Linked DNA regions of Homo sapiens: regions 2 and 3 are each linked to region 1. The links are contacts of gene promoters, found by promoter capture Hi-C in blood cells and fetal thymus (Javierre and others, 2016). All regions are on one chromosome and are shown on one strand. The core of a region is centred on a gene start or on the middle of the fragment in contact, and the rest is flanking DNA. Distances in the headings are between cores, read along the strand shown. Region 1 holds the start of HS3ST1 (heparan sulfate-glucosamine 3-sulfotransferase 1). Region 2 has its middle 140 kb from the start of LINC02498. Region 3 has its middle 160 kb from the start of LINC02498.

Region 1 (5,031 bases), core at 1,814-4,313:
GTTGAGAAGATGCACTTTGGAGTCAGGTGAGAACTCTTTGAATATCAGCCCTACCACTTATTAGTATGTCACCTTGAACGAGTCACTAAACTCTCCTAAACCTCCGTTTCCCCATTTGTAAAATGAACAAAAGGTGCAGCTCCTATGATTCATTTTGCATAGTACCTGGCACTATAAGCCTTAGATACACTTTAGCTGGTATTATTACTGATTATTGCCCAAACTCATAGGTCAGTTGCTTTTGTTTCTATTTCATGCCTTTTCACTCCTTGAGCCTTTATCTTCTTTAGAACAGTTTACAACTGTGTTAACTCATGTCTGTGCGTGTCTGTAAAGGTAGGCTAGGAGTGTTTGCCTTGTTTTTCCTTGAGATAAGATTTTATGCTCTCTTAGGGCAATGGAGATATCTTATTTTTTCATCTCTCTCTTAGTAACTGGCATAGTGTTGTACACATACTAGGTGCTCAATAAAGACTTCGAGATCTTAAAATATTAGCAGTACAGAGATCTTCCACTAAAACCCTCTCATTTTTCAGTTGTTGGAACTGATAAAAAGAGTCTTGGGCCACACAACTGACTGACAGACACTTTTGCAGTCAACTACTACTGTGTCTCCTAACAGCCTCTATTCTCATGCCCACGGCTTTGAAAGGGAAACATGTTTGACTTAAACCCTGACTCCTTGAGGGAAGTTCCATTTACAAAGTTTTTTTTTTTTTTTTTTAAGAGCATAGTATGTTTCAGATACCATGCAGGATTGTAGGATTCTGGGATTCAGATACCATGGAGGATTCATCATTAAATCACGATACCCAAGCTCAAGGCGTTTATAATCTATTAGAGAAGACAGATCCCTAAATAGATGTTTCAATAATGTGATTGTGTTGTCATAGGAGAGCTAAGCTCTGGCACTACATGAGCTTCTGGATAAGAAACCTAACTCATGACCAGAAGACTTCAGGGAGAGCTATTTAGGAGCAGTGGCAAATGCCTGGACATACACATAAAACTAAGTAAGAACAAAATAGCCAGTTGGTGTTTTTATTTATCTGAATGTAAGAACATAGATTATCGATCAATGAACAATTGCTCAGATTTAAAAAGAAATGAGGAAAACTAAAATGTTAGTCCTCAAATTCCTGTCACTTCCCACATGTGCCCTGCAGTCATTTCCTGCAAATGGAAACTTCCAACAAAATCTCTGGGCTGGAGACCTGGGGTTCCAGTTTCTTTCAAGGTCTTGTGGTAGGGAACTAAGTGGGTGAGTAACCTGCCTTTGGCTTCCAGGGTGCAAACAGAATCATTGCTAACCCCCTTTGTGTCTCACAATGGGTAATGAAATTCATACTATGGCACCAAAGCACTTTGAGCTCTTTAGAAAAAGTAATCATACCAACTTAGAGCATTAAAACCACCCCGTATTTTGAAGGACTCATGATCTGCACTGTGCTTGGCTGCTGGTGGAAGCTTAAAGACACCAGTAATTGGCAGAACTTTATCTTAGACTTCCATTTGACCCTCACAACCTCACACATGATTTTACACAGCTTCCTATAATGGGGGAGAAAAGCCCTTCTTTTAAATCTAATGTTAGTTTAAATGCTAAGGCTTTCAAAGTGGGCCTTTAAAGTCACTTTTTAGAATTTGTATTTTTTTTTAACCTAAAATAGACATGCCAACATTATTCTGACTAAAAGAAGTAGACAAGGTCATTCAACTCCTAAAAGCTTATTTTCCAAAAGCACAGTTAGGTCTCAGCTTTCAGGGTGCTTCTGGCTGTATCAAAAAGACAGAATATACTGGTCACTGTGTTGTTTTCTGAAAGTGCCGAGGGTAATCTGTGTATGAGTTAAAGGGCCAATTTCCTATAGGAACCTTCTCTTAGATGGGATTTTTTTTTAATTAAACAATGTTGGTGAAATATATTTAAACGTAAATCACAAATTCGAAGTCTTCCAAATATTTATTTACTAATGTGGAAGACATGGAAACTACAGTAATCTCATTTAAAGGAAGTTACTTTGATGTGCATTTGCTTTTGGCGGGGTATGATTGCTGACCTGCCTTTGAGGGCAACTTCCTTTGGCTCAGGTAAGCAGGCAAACCCGTTTCTCCAAGGCGATTCCAACCCCACGCCCCTCAAAACCTTAAATCTTAAATTGAGTTATTGGGTGCAGGTCCTTTCTCCCACAGAACCTCCCAGCTTCCGGAATAGAGGAGCGGGGCAGAAATATCCTGCTTTTTATTTCAGAGCTGACGTTTGCAATCCTAGTGCACTAGCGGAAAAAAAAAAAAAAAAAAAAAAAAAAAAAAGCTGAATTTTCCGCGCTCTCCTGGCAAATTGGCGTCCGCTCTCCGACGCTAAACCAAAGGAAAAGGAGTGTTCAATGGCGACAGGGCGCTCTTTGAAGCCGGCTCCTCACGCGGATTCTGGCCCAGGCCGCCGCTCCGGTCCCAGTCCGGCTGCAGAGCGAATTGGAGAGGATGGCACCTCCTGCTTCCCGGGGGGCGGAAGGAGCGCCAGCGCCTAAGGTGGGTCACCTGCCAGGAAGGGAATACGCATGGTGCAGACTCACGTGGGAGGAGCACAGGTCCCGGGTACAAGTGCCGAGCTGGCGACTTAGAGAAGAGGTAGACTCGGGCTCAGACCAAGCAGGCGTAAGGGAGTAGACGGGACGTCCCGTGTTTGCAGTGACGGCGGAGTCACCCATCCCAGCAGCCTCACCTTCTTGGAGCGCTGGTCCCTCCCCTTGGACTGAAACCCCAGGGGCCACCGCACCGGGTGGGCGGGACCGACTACTACCCGACCAGCCGCTGGAGCTGCGTGCCAGGCGGGGCTGTGCGGAGCAGCTGAGCGCAGAGCGGAGCACCAGGCACCTAGCGGGCCGGACTCTGGGCGGCACCCGAGCGGGCCGGGCAGCAGTGGGCGCTCGCGATCCTCCTCTGCCCAACGCGCTCTCCCTCCGGGCCCGGCCTCCTCCGTCCCCTCCTTTTGCTCCCGCTCCTCCTCCCGCTCCTCCCCCTCCTCGGGATTGAGCACCAAAACGCCCGCCTGCAAGGTCCTCTGCGCCCTGGCAGCCAGGAGTCGCCGCCACGACAGCCGGGTCTCAGTGGGTGCCTGCGCCTTCTCCCCGCCCGCCTGCCCCGGGCCATCCAGAAACTTGCTCTACCCGCCGCGGGTGCTCGGCAGTGCTGCCCATGGCCCAGCCTAGGAGCCTATTTAGGGCGCCGGACGGGCTGGACAGAGGCGCGGCTCAGGTGAGTGCGGCGCGCGCGGGGTGGGAGAGTGGCAGGACGCAGGTGTAGAGGGCTCCGAGGTGCCTTTGTCTGGCGTTCTGGACTTCGGGCAAGTGCAGAACCTAAGAAGAATCGAGGCTGGAGCAGGTGGAGTGGATGCAGAGGGAACCAGGAAGCAAAGGCTGGGGATTTTCCCATCCTCCTCACCTCCTGCCCTAGCACCTCTGCTCTGGAAGTCCCGAGGGACCGGTTGATCTGTAAGGACAGGGACCCAGATTTCTGACTCTTACTGGGTTGGATGTTTTCCCCCCCTGCAGAGTCGTGAGGTTCGCTCCTGCCGGCCGCTTCGCGACCGCAGCTTCACCATAGGACCCTGTAGGGCAGCGAGAGCGCAGCACTCAACGGATCCTGGGTACCACCTGGGGCCAGAAACTGGGGCGAGGACACAGCCCGCAAAAGTAACTCGGCTGAGGGAGCCTTTGGGGGTGGAGAAGCCTTGGTCGGGTTTGCCTTTGCATTTGGTTGGAGATAGGCATCTCCCAAAGAGAGAGATTGAGGTGACAGCCCTGACAATAAACCTCTCATCCCTAATGCCAATTACATGAGGGTCTTGATTTTTTTCTTGTTACTTTTTACTGATTTTTTTCCCCCTTCGTGGTTTTCTATTTCCGGGCCCTTGGGTAGTGGCAGCGGATGGAGGTGAGGGATGGCGGGGTGCGAACCCGCGGTTGGAACGCCTAGACCCCAGCTCCCAGGAAGGGTCTTATTCGCGGAGCTTGACCTCTCCAGGTGCGCTCTACCAGCCAGGGGGCGGACGGCGCGCTGCTCCTCCTTCTAGCCCCAGCCTGTCCCAGGAAGCGGAGGACAGACCCAGAACGTAGGCGGATGATGGGAAGAAGAAGCTGGAGCCAAAGCCGGGTGCCGGCGCGGGATGGGGTGTGCTGGGCTCTGCAGTTATAGGTCTATAACTCTGCAGTTATAGGCGCTATAGGTCTTCCATCTCTTTCCCTCCCCTGGGAGCCAGCGATTCCTCGCACACTCAGGGCGCTCTCTTGGGCCAAGGGTTGCATCCTCCCTCTTCCTCCTCCTTTGCAGATCCAGTGGTACCCTTGCCTCGCCTTGCGCGAGTCTCGCTCCTCCCTTTCCCACAATGTTATCATGAGCTATTTTTATCTACAACTTGTGCCAAGATGCTTTTGGGGGGATTCTAGGGAGGCCACTCCAAATCCACTGTCTTTGCGCTGCGCTCCGAGAAACAGTCTCCTGTTAGCATGGAGCAGCCTCAAGGAGTGGCGGGGAGGGTGGCCGAGAACGGAAGGAGCCAGTCCGCCCTCTTCTCCTCCCTCAGCCCTAGCCCCGGAGGGAAACCCCGCCACCACCAGCTCGGCTGCGCCTCCCGCCAGTAGCCCCGGAAGAGGGTCCCCAGACGAGTCCCCACGCTCCCGCTTTCAGGCGCTGGGTGCTTGGACACTGCTGAGGCAGCAGCCTGGCACAGGCAGGATCCTTCATTCCCACCCGTGCGTTCTCGCTTTGCAGGCAAATCTCATTTTATTTTGTTGAAATGCTTCCACCCAAGGGTTAATTCCAGGAATTCCATCTTTAAAAAAAAAAGAAAAAAAAAGGAGGGAGAAATAACCCAACTTCTGCCTCCCTGCATTTCTAAAGCAAAGCGCATCCTTTGACGTTCGGATTTTTTTCTTGCTTTCTGCATTCCTGGTAATATTGGGTAACACTGGGTGCAATTAGAATAAGCCTTACCTACTGAAATTCCAGGAGACGCGCGCTCCGCTGCAA
Region 2 (5,031 bases), core at 1,644-4,143, 550 kb after region 1:
GCCCTGGGCCTCGCATTGGTACTGTACCAATGATATAACACTTCACTGGAGTTCAGAGGAAAAGTTGTCTTTAAAAATACCACCATCCTCCCATTCAGGGAAATGCTCGGAGCTAAATTGGAGAAGAGAATAGCTAGTGAGAGTGACAGGTGAAGGGACATCGCCAGGGAGATGATAGAGTCTTGAGGAAATTCAGCAGCTCAGGGGAGGTGACTCATTGTTGCTCACAGTCCAGATGCTCTTTATTTTGTTTTATGTTATTTTATGTTCAGATAACATTGGAAGACATAAGGAGAGACAGGAAAATCTTTCACTCTCTCTTGCTGTCACTCTCCCTCTGTCTCTGTCTTACACACACACACACACACATACACACACACACACACATCTGAAACCAAAGCCAGTACCAGAGTGCATTACATCTTAGAGCTATCAAAGACCTCACAGAACCTTTACGGTGCCTATTAAAAAGTCACAAAATCAAAGTGGGAAATCGTCATGACCAAGGGGGACAATATCAGAGAGAGAGAGTTCAGCACTAGGAACTACACTTTTCTGGTTTTGCTCATTGTCAGAAAAGTGTGAGCTGAGACCTGAAAAAGACAAACAGTATACAAGAAAACTTGAAGAAAAGACCAGACCGGTATGGATGGAGGATCTGTAGATTCTGAGAACAAAGGACTGAGTAAAACCCCATTTGGTCTCAAAAAACCCACATGGTCATGGGAGACAATTTCAACATGAAGACATGAATGCCAGGAGGGAAGTGGCTGTGGGTACAGTGAAATGCTACAGGCTGTGCAATTAATTAGGCCTGAAGGTTAAATGTAAAAGTTACCTTATAAATTAAAATGATGAAAGTTTATACTTACACGATACAATACTCTAAAACTTGTACCTATATTTTCCTTCTTCCTTCATTAATTCTCCTTTTTTGTAATCCATGTATCTTCATAATTTCTGAAACGTGCATTCTAAAGAATGCCAGGCTTATCAGTGTGATCTCTGAAGTGAGGAGGTGACAAAAAAGAATGACTATTTTTCCACACTTGTTGTAAGAGGACATTTTTGGCCAGGCGTGGTGGTTCACGCCTGTAATCCCAGCACTTAGGGAGTCCAAGGCGAGTGGATCACTTGAGATCAGGAGTTCGAGACCAGCCTGGCCAACATGGTAAAACCCCATCTCTACTAAAAATACAAAAAAAAAAAAAAAAAAAATTAGCCAGGCATTGTGGTGCATGTCTGGAATCCTAGCTATTCGGGAGGCTGAACCCAGGAGGTGGGGGTTGCAGTGAGCCAAGATCGAACCACTGCACTCCATCCTGGGAAACAGAGAGAGACTCAATCTTAAAAAAAAAAAAAAAAGGACATTTTTGAAAATTATATATATATTCATATAAATTTTAATGGGAAGATCAATTTACACCTTCAGCTCCAACTTCAGCTTGTGAACTTCTTCCCACCAAAGGAGTCTGTTGCAATGAAAAGAGTCAAGTGATGTAATGGAGGTTTTCAAAACTGCTTTGACCTGAAGAAGCTAGTCAGCATGCTAGTTCACAGCACCATGAAGAAGAGATGAGAATGTGCTTACACATTTCTCCAAGGAAGAAGACAGTTTCTTGCTCTAGATTTGTGTGCCTGGGTAAAAATTCTATCATATTGTTTATTCTTTCCTCAGAGTGTGAGATCCAGAATCAGACTCACTAGTTACATGGCTTTAGGGAAGTTACTCTTTGTACATTAGTTATCTACTCTTTCCATCAGAAAAGATGATGATGATGATGATGATGATGATAAGGAGGAGGAAAAGGAGGAAGGAAAGAAGGGGAAATTGGGGAAAGAGATGAAGAAAAAGGAGGAGGAAAAGAGAAAGAAGAAAAGAACAATAGTAACAACTTCTTGATGGGGTTATATTGAAGATTAGATTAGTTAGTATATACGAAATGCTAAATACGGTGATTCCCAAGAGATGCTATTATTGTTTTTCATTCAAGCAACCAACATTTGTTGAGAACCTACTGTGTGCAAGCTGCTCCATCACTGTAGGAAATGCAGTGATGAGTGAGTGTACCACCATCTAGTGCAAAAACTGACCAATGCTCAGATACTAAGCTTTATACCCGTGGACTATAGCTTCCTCTACTCCTTCACATTCCTGCCACCCAGCAACTTCCTGGTCTTTCTTTCACAATAATTGATGCCTTTGCACCTGAATCACAGTGTGCCCTTCTCCTCATGTTGTATAATCTTCCTAGAAGCAAGCAACGTCTGCTCAAACCACTCGTTCAAAATCTTGACCCCAGGATTTCTTATTTCATCATGTTCTGACAACTACCTTCCCTATAAATCAGGAAACTCAACACTCTACTCTTCTCCCTCAACTGCCTATTCTCCCACCACTCCACATCTTTGCTCTATGTCTATCCCATAGGCAGAAGCTCACCCATATATGGGATTACTTGGGATCATGTGGACAGTCCTTATGTTCTAGTAGAGCAATTTTCCCACATTCAAGTGTGTATGAATCACCTAGGGATCTTAGTGAAACACAGATTCTGATTCAGTAGGTCTGGAGTGGAGCATGAAATTCTGCAATTCTAATGTGTGTTAAGTTCCCAAGTGATGCTGATGCTGCTGGCCCAAGGACACACTTTGAATAGTTAAGCTCTAGTAGTCCTGATATATTAACCAGTCAGGGCCATGTTTCAGAGTTGAGCCCTGGGTCCTGGAAATTCAGAAATATGACTTATGTTAGAATACTGAGTAAAAAAGTACCCTTTGTGTGGATGACTCACATTGACTAAATTTATATACACAATGCCTACAGGCAGAGAGGCAAGAAAATGGCCCATAACAAGAAGCAACACTCACTGGACTGAGGGGCTTAAAATCCACATGGCCAGCCACTGTCTCCCTTGCATTGACTTACAGGCAAAATCAAATAATAATAAGAATATAGATTGGAGAGCATGGAAACAGAACATGCTGGAAAAATTGAATATGCGTGTATCTCACAACTGCTTATGTGTCCTACCAAAAATCAAATTTGTTAGTGAGCCTCCACCCCTCTGAATCTTTGTTCTTGTTATTGTATGGCTGACAAATCCCTAACCCAAGAGATATATGCTTTCTTTACATAGGTTAGAACAGTAGAAATTCTTCATCTGCAACATCCACTTAAAGACAGGCATGCAACTGATCAATATTTATGGCATTTAGATGTGTATACTGCAAAATAATAGCAACAAGCACTAATGTTGAATAAATGCTTGCTAGAAGCTAAGCTCAGAGGTTAACACTTTGTACTCACAATATCACTCCGAGGTAGGTCTTACTATTATCCTATTCTATGGATGAGGAAAGAGAGGCCGGGAAAGACTTAGTAGCTACCAGAGTCAGGATTTGGAAATAGGCATCTGGCCTTTGATACCTAGCTATTAGCCAAGAGTTGAAAAAGAGGGCATGTGAACAGAACATATAATAGTGGAAGAAATTGATTTATTTAAAGGTATATCTTTACGTATGTTTTAATCACTTCCTTTAGAAAGGTTTTTCTCATGTCTGAGAAGCTGCACCTTCTCTAAAATCATAGTCAGAACGGAGGAGACTCATTGGTCAGCATTTCTGGGCCTGAAAACCACTTTGCTTCCTTCATATGCCATTTGGAAAGCTTTAGATTTGTGTTGCAAAGGCCTTTGTTGGTGGAAAATGTTGAGATGACTGAACAATGATTTGTAGAAATATAGATACATATAGGTAGATAACTATAGGTATCTCAATATGGGAAAAGTTGGTCAAAAATATTTACTATAATTTTACCGTTCATAGATCTAGGTGCAACAGAATATTTAAAATAAATTTAAAACAAAAAGATGTAGGTACAGTGTGCAGAAGACTCTTGGTTAGGTCACTTTGAATTAGTTTTCTACAATATCTGTATCCTACAATACCGGAATGCATTTGCTTATCGAAGTGAACATTTCCAGAGGGTGAAGCTGAAGTTCAGACCCACAGGACTCAGGGCCTCAAAGTGTATCCTTTGCATCAACAGAAGCCCACAAAAATTCTCACACTCTGAAGTTTAGGCATGAAAGACATACATAAGATTGTTTGTCAATATTTTAAAATCGCATTTAAGACTTGGTTTGTTAATCACAGGTTTTGTTTCCTGGCTCTGAGCAAATGATAGAAAGTGAAACAGCATACCTCTCAATTGGGTGCAGTAGGAGATGCTGGAAGGTTTAGATGTAAAATTACATAACTTTCTGCATCTGGGTGGGGCTCTGGTAAGATCTCTGCCCTCTATGTCCTCCCAAGGAATCTTAATTTTACGAGGAGGGAGATAAAGAGAAAAAAAAATCTGCAAAGGAACTAAAGAAGTGAGAAAGATTTTTTTAAAATCTCTTTTCTTGCCTAAAAGGTGACAGACTAAACCAGAACAAGACATTTGCATAATAAAACACCAGCAGAAATGAACTAGGCTAACTAAGCAAAAGGTGTTGTGGAGCTTGCAGTCAGCAGAGGTACTCACACATTTTAATAAGTTCCAGGTTTGAGCCTATGTCTGGGTATATTGGAATCAGCATGAATGTGGAATTCAGAAAAAAACCTATTCTGCAACATAACCTTTGGCAATGGTCTTGATCCCTAACCCCCTAGCCCCACACCCATATAGTGGACTTAGTACTAGGATGAATGGCCAAAATGAGGCATTCTCCCTCTGTTCCTCCCATCTGTCTTTGGTAAAATGGGGACATTAATGCCCATTTCTGAGTTCCAAAAATTAACTGTAATAATAAATGCAGAGAGTCTGCTACACAGTAGGTTCTGGAGGTGAGCGTCCCTGCCCCTCACCAGCATTAAAAATTAAAAAGTCATTTTCATATTGGAACATTTGGAGTGGACTCCTCAAGGATTATGAATTCTATTAATATTTGTCTCTCAAATAAAAGAACAATTGGGGATAAAATTGCACCCAGCCAAATCCATTTTAAATGGATGAGAGTGGAGCAGAAAATAATGAAGAAGAAT
Region 3 (5,031 bases), core at 1,053-3,552, 530 kb after region 1:
AAAGAGAACTTTTGGGACCTACTAGTAATTGAACAATTCGTTTTTCAGTCATAAGCTTGGTGTGATTAATTACAATTATCACAGTTTGAAACTGTATACTTACATATTTGTTAGCCTCCCTGTCTCCCCTACTAATTTATTATCCTCATGAGGCTCTTTTCAGCAATGTATCAGTAGCACCCAGAATAATGATTGGCTCATAGCAGTCTTTGAGTAGTTGTTTAATGAATGAATGGATAGAAGGATGGATAGATGGGTGGATGGCTGTGTGGGTAGACAGATGGATGGGTAGATGAATGAAAGTACTGATGGGCAGACAAATGGATGAGTGGATGGATAGATGGATAAATGGATGGAAGGATAAACAGATGGAGCGGAAATTAGGAGAAATGTAGAACAGGTACGGTTGACAGTCTCCAAAGACGGTGTCATCAATTTCTTCCCTCCCTATAGATGTATGTTGCAACTGACACCAAAGTGGAGTCTAACTATTTTCACCTCCATTCCAGATGGGCCTTTGTGACTTTCTCAATAGAGCATGGCAGAAGTGACATTTCAGAACTTCTGAGACTATGACAAGAAATCCTGCAGCATCTTCCTGCATCTCTTGGAGTATTCAGCCTGGGAGAAGCCTACTGCTATGTTAGAAGTCTGCTATCTTGAAACCTCCATGCTGTAAAGAAGCTTAAACTAGGCATGTGGAGAGGTCACGCGGAAGGAGATAAACTTGACCAGCCCCCAGGTATCTCAGCCCAAATGTCAATCTCCAGTCCTAGCTGTCATCTGTTTTCAACTGCCTGAGACAATTCAAGCAAGAAGAGTTCACCTAAGCCTAATTGTCCACAGGACAACAGGGGGCCGCACTAAATTGTTGTTTTAAACCACTAAGTTTTGGAGCATTTTGTTACATAACAGTGGGTAACTGGAATGTCTGGAAAAAAAGCATACTGAGAAGCTTACATTGTCATTTGAAACAGTAATAGAAATAGAAATGGTGGGTGTGAATAGACCTATAGATGAAAAAAAATGAAGATTTACAGAAGCCAATTGACAAGCCAAGAAATGGCACAATGAGAACTATAATCCAAGCCTAGAATTTAAAAAGAGACAAGAGATAGACAAAAAGAGGATGAGAGGAAAACAAAAGACTTTATATCTTCAACGTGTTTAATGTTTTATCCAATCTTTCTTAGCTGAAGTCAAGAATATATAATCCAAGTGGTCTTCCCAAAAATAAATGTTTGTTTTTTTTTAAATGCCCTGCCCACCCCACAGGATTGCACATGTGCTACTACCAAAAAATAAAAGTAAAGAAAAGAAAGTTTTCTATGCTTGGAATAGCAAGAGCCTCTGTCCTCTGTCTCTTCATAGTATCTGGGAAACATGTCCTCAAACTCTTGGGTCCTTCTAGCTGGTTTGGACTTGATCCAATCATTTAGTAACTACCACAATGCCCAATACAGCAAATAGTTCAAAGCTACTTCCTGTTAATTAGCCAAGGCAGTTTTGAGGGTCCCAGCTGTGCAATTCATTTTCATGCGCAGTATCCCCAATTAGGCCAACTCTGTCTGAAATTTCTGGAGCCACAACTTGATAATCAGTGGAGAGATGCACCAAGCTAAGATAAGGTCAAAGTATATTTTCTTTAGTGGTTCCCCCAAGACAACACTTCAAAATCACTTACCAGAGTAAAAACTATATTTCATATACTTTACGAAAATAAATGTGTAGTCCTAGAAGGGGAAGTAACCATGATTAAATTCCTGACCATTTCTCTTTATGCTATAACCTAAAGGAACAAAAATAAGATTCTTTTTCTGACTTCTTTGAGCCCTCTTCTCATATTTTGAAATAAACTGCCCATTGGTGACAGGCTTCCCCTCCCAGATAAATTGGTCCAAAGATCCATGTTAGATTGCTGACCTAAAAATTCATTTAGCTGTAACTGCCTGCCGTGTCAATGCGCTTTCATTAAAAAAGTGGTCTTTTCTGCATAAACAATATAGAAGACCCATTGATCACAGTGCCTGGCATGCCACCAACACCATATTTTCTTTTTCTTTTTTCTTTTTTTTTTTTTTTTTTAGACAGAGTCTCTCTCTGTCACCCAAGCTGAGAGTGCATTGGTGCCATCTTGACTCACTGCAACCTCCGCCACCAGGATTCAAGTGATTCTCCTGCCTCAGCCTCCCGAGTAGCTGAGACTACAGGCACACGCCATCACACCCGGCTAATTTTTGTATTTTTAGTAGAGACAGGGTTTCACTATGTTGGCCAGGCTGGTCTCGAACTCCTGATCTGGTGATCTGCCTGCCTCAGCCTCCCTGAGTGCTGGGATTATAGGCGTGAGCCACTGTGCCTGGCCTAACACCATCTTTGTAAAGAAATTCCTCTCCCATAGGACCTGAAGAAGTGGACAACGCCAAGAGACATGCTTGATTGACTAAGGCAGCAAATCCTGGAGCCAGCCAATGCCCTGTCATCTTCCATTCACAGGGAAAACCAGCCTGACCAATCAAATCGTTTCTCTCTCTGGAATTCAGAGTCATTGACCAAAAGCGGCGCTAACAGAGGAAGCTGCTGCTCAAAGCCATAGCACAGTGAGAGGTGAGAGAGTCATGCTGGGTCTCAAGTGAGCCAAAGTGAAGCATAGCCTATAAAATAGACGAATTAAACAGTGCAAAAAGCCAGCTGGTAGAAAAAGGAAGTTGAAGTAGATGTGAAATGTGAAATGGAGTCATCCTGAGCAGGTGAATGAAACCATGAAGGCAGGAAAAGACAAAGAGAGCTTAGCTAGTTCCTGGACAGCCTTAGCTCCTGAACACCACTTGGCCTTCTAGATCCAGGACCGGCTCTGGTCTTTGTGTGTATCTTTACCACTTCTTTTTCCCTTCAAGTGGCTGGAGTGAGCTACAGTCCTTTAAGAGCATGGTGGCAATGTGCTTTAGAGTGAAAACTGCCTGGACCCAGCCTTAAAGTTTAGATCAGGCTTCTGCCGGCCTGGCGCAGTGGCTCACGCCTGTAATCCCAGCACTTTGGGAGGCCGACGCGGGCGGATCACGAGGTCAGGAGATAGAGACCATCCTGGCTAACACGGTGAAACCCCGTCTCCACTAAAAAATACAAAAAATTAGCCGGGCATGCGCCACTGCACTCCGGCCTGGGCGACAGAGCGAGACTCCGTCTCAAAGAAAAAAAAAATACAAAAAATTAGCCGGGCGTGGTGGTGGGCGCCTGTAGTCCCAGCTACTCCGGAGGCTGAGGCAGGAGAATGGCGTGAACCCGGGAGGCGGAGCTTGCAATGAGCCGAGATCGCGCCACTGCACTCCAGCCTGGGCGAGAGAGCGAGACTCTGTCTCAAAAAAGAAAAGAGGGTAGGGTACGGTAGGGTACGGTAGGGTACGGTAGGGTAGGGTAGGGTAGGGTAGGGTAGGGTAGGGTAGGGTAGGGTAGGGTAGGGTAGGGTGCAGGGCTTCTGCTTCATCTGGAGATGGCCTCCTCAGTGCTGGGCATACAGAATCAGGTTTCACAGGGAAGACCTGGCGTAAATGCTCCCCCATGAGTGATGTAGGTGGAGACGTAGGAAGCTGGCCCACCACAGTGTTCTCATTTGGAACGTGTAAAAACCTTGTGAGCAAAATTAAGCTTGGACTATTGCCCAGGAAATGCTGAGCTATCCTTCTGGCCTCTCTGATGCCTGCTCCATGTTTCAGCCAGAAAACACAGGAAATCAACCGACTGGGAGTCTTCTGTGTGCTCTGTGGCACCTTTCCTCATGTCACCCCATGCACGTGCAGCCACCACCCCTGAGGTTCTTGTCTGGCTCTTGCTAATCAAAATTCTTTAGAACCTAATGCTTCTCCTCTTTATGCTCCTGCACAGGCCCAAGGATGGGGCCCTTTTCTTTGTCTTGTTTTGTTTTTTATCTACCAGTTCCTGGAAACAATTTGAATTATTTCTTATCTTTCTCTTTGGCCCCAATTAATAGCAGCCTTGCTTTTACTTCCATAGAAGCAATATATGTTTATTGCAGATAATCTGAAAAATACAGAAGAAATGACAGAAGAAACAGTTTCCAATGTAGAGACAACCAATATTAACATATTAATATACTTTTTCTGATTTATTTTCTATGAATATATTTATAGATATAAGATATATTTTTGAATTACATATAATCTGGCATTTTCTCTTAACATGATTTTATGAATATTTTAGATTATCATGAAATATCTTCAAAAATACTTTTAAAGTTGCTGCAGAATATCCTATTAGAGGGGAAGACCATCATTTACTCAACTTTTCCCTGTTGTACATTTACTGTAGTTCAAGGCACCATTGATCATAGTTCTCCCAGAGCGGTTTATATGATAACCCCAGTCTCATCATAGTACAGATGGCAAATGTACCAGGTGATGTGGAAAGTCAGGGGCTAAGATTGACCTCTGCAACCAGCCTGCCAGCATTTAATTCCAGCTGCACCATTTACTTATGCATAAGCTCAGATAAGTTGTTTAACATTCTATACTTCAGTTTTCTCACCTGAAATGGGGATAATAAAAGTCCTTTTCTCACAGGTTCATGGGGAGATTAAATGAGTTAATACCTCTAAACTGCTTACAAAAGTACCTGGCACATTGAATGGTTGTTATTATTATGGCACTGTTAGGGAGAACAGCTGTCCCCATTCATGATGTTGGTTTTTATCAACTGAGGATGGACCTCTTCAGTAGGACCCCTGGCCTCCTTCACATTCTCCCTCTTCCTGGATATTCTTCAGAAGAGGGTGGACCTACCTCGGTGGTAGCTTTGGAAAAAGACGTGGGTATATGCAGTGTTGTGGATTGAATAGTGGTTCCCAAGAAAGATATGTCTAAGTCCTAATTCTTAGAACCTATAAATGTGAACTTATTTAGCAAAAGAGTATTTGCCCAATGTAATTAAGAATCTCAAGATCATCCTGGATTCAAGGTGGGCCCTATAACCAATGACAGATGTCCTTTTAAGAGAAGAGGCAGGAGAATCTTTGAT

What was found. Contacts are between HindIII fragments. The CHiCAGO score rates a contact against its expected background, and 5 or more counts as called.
Region 2: a fragment that was not itself captured here is called in contact with the fragment with the promoter of HS3ST1 in region 1 in 2 of 17 cell types (total B cells and naive B cells); the score reaches 6.1 in total B cells.
Region 3: a fragment that was not itself captured here is called in contact with the fragment with the promoter of HS3ST1 in region 1 in 2 of 17 cell types (naive B cells and total B cells); the score reaches 7.9 in naive B cells.

The regions. Positions count from the first base shown.
Region 1 is chr4:11,426,926-11,431,956 of GRCh38, reverse strand. HS3ST1 (heparan sulfate-glucosamine 3-sulfotransferase 1) reads left to right here and starts at 3,063. Exons shown (of 2, transcript NM_005114.4): 1 at 3,063-3,258. RefSeq lists a silencer at 2,918-3,097 and an enhancer at 3,188-3,407. The HindIII fragment of the contact is 3,893 bases long and covers 1,730-5,031 here.
Region 2 is chr4:10,874,782-10,879,812 of GRCh38, reverse strand. No RefSeq gene overlaps it. Among named protein-coding and RNA genes, the nearest start is that of LINC02498, 140 kb to the right of the region's middle. The HindIII fragment of the contact is 1,558 bases long and covers 2,115-3,672 here.
Region 3 is chr4:10,895,895-10,900,925 of GRCh38, reverse strand. No RefSeq gene overlaps it. Among named protein-coding and RNA genes, the nearest start is that of LINC02498, 160 kb to the right of the region's middle. The HindIII fragment of the contact is 2,690 bases long and covers 958-3,647 here.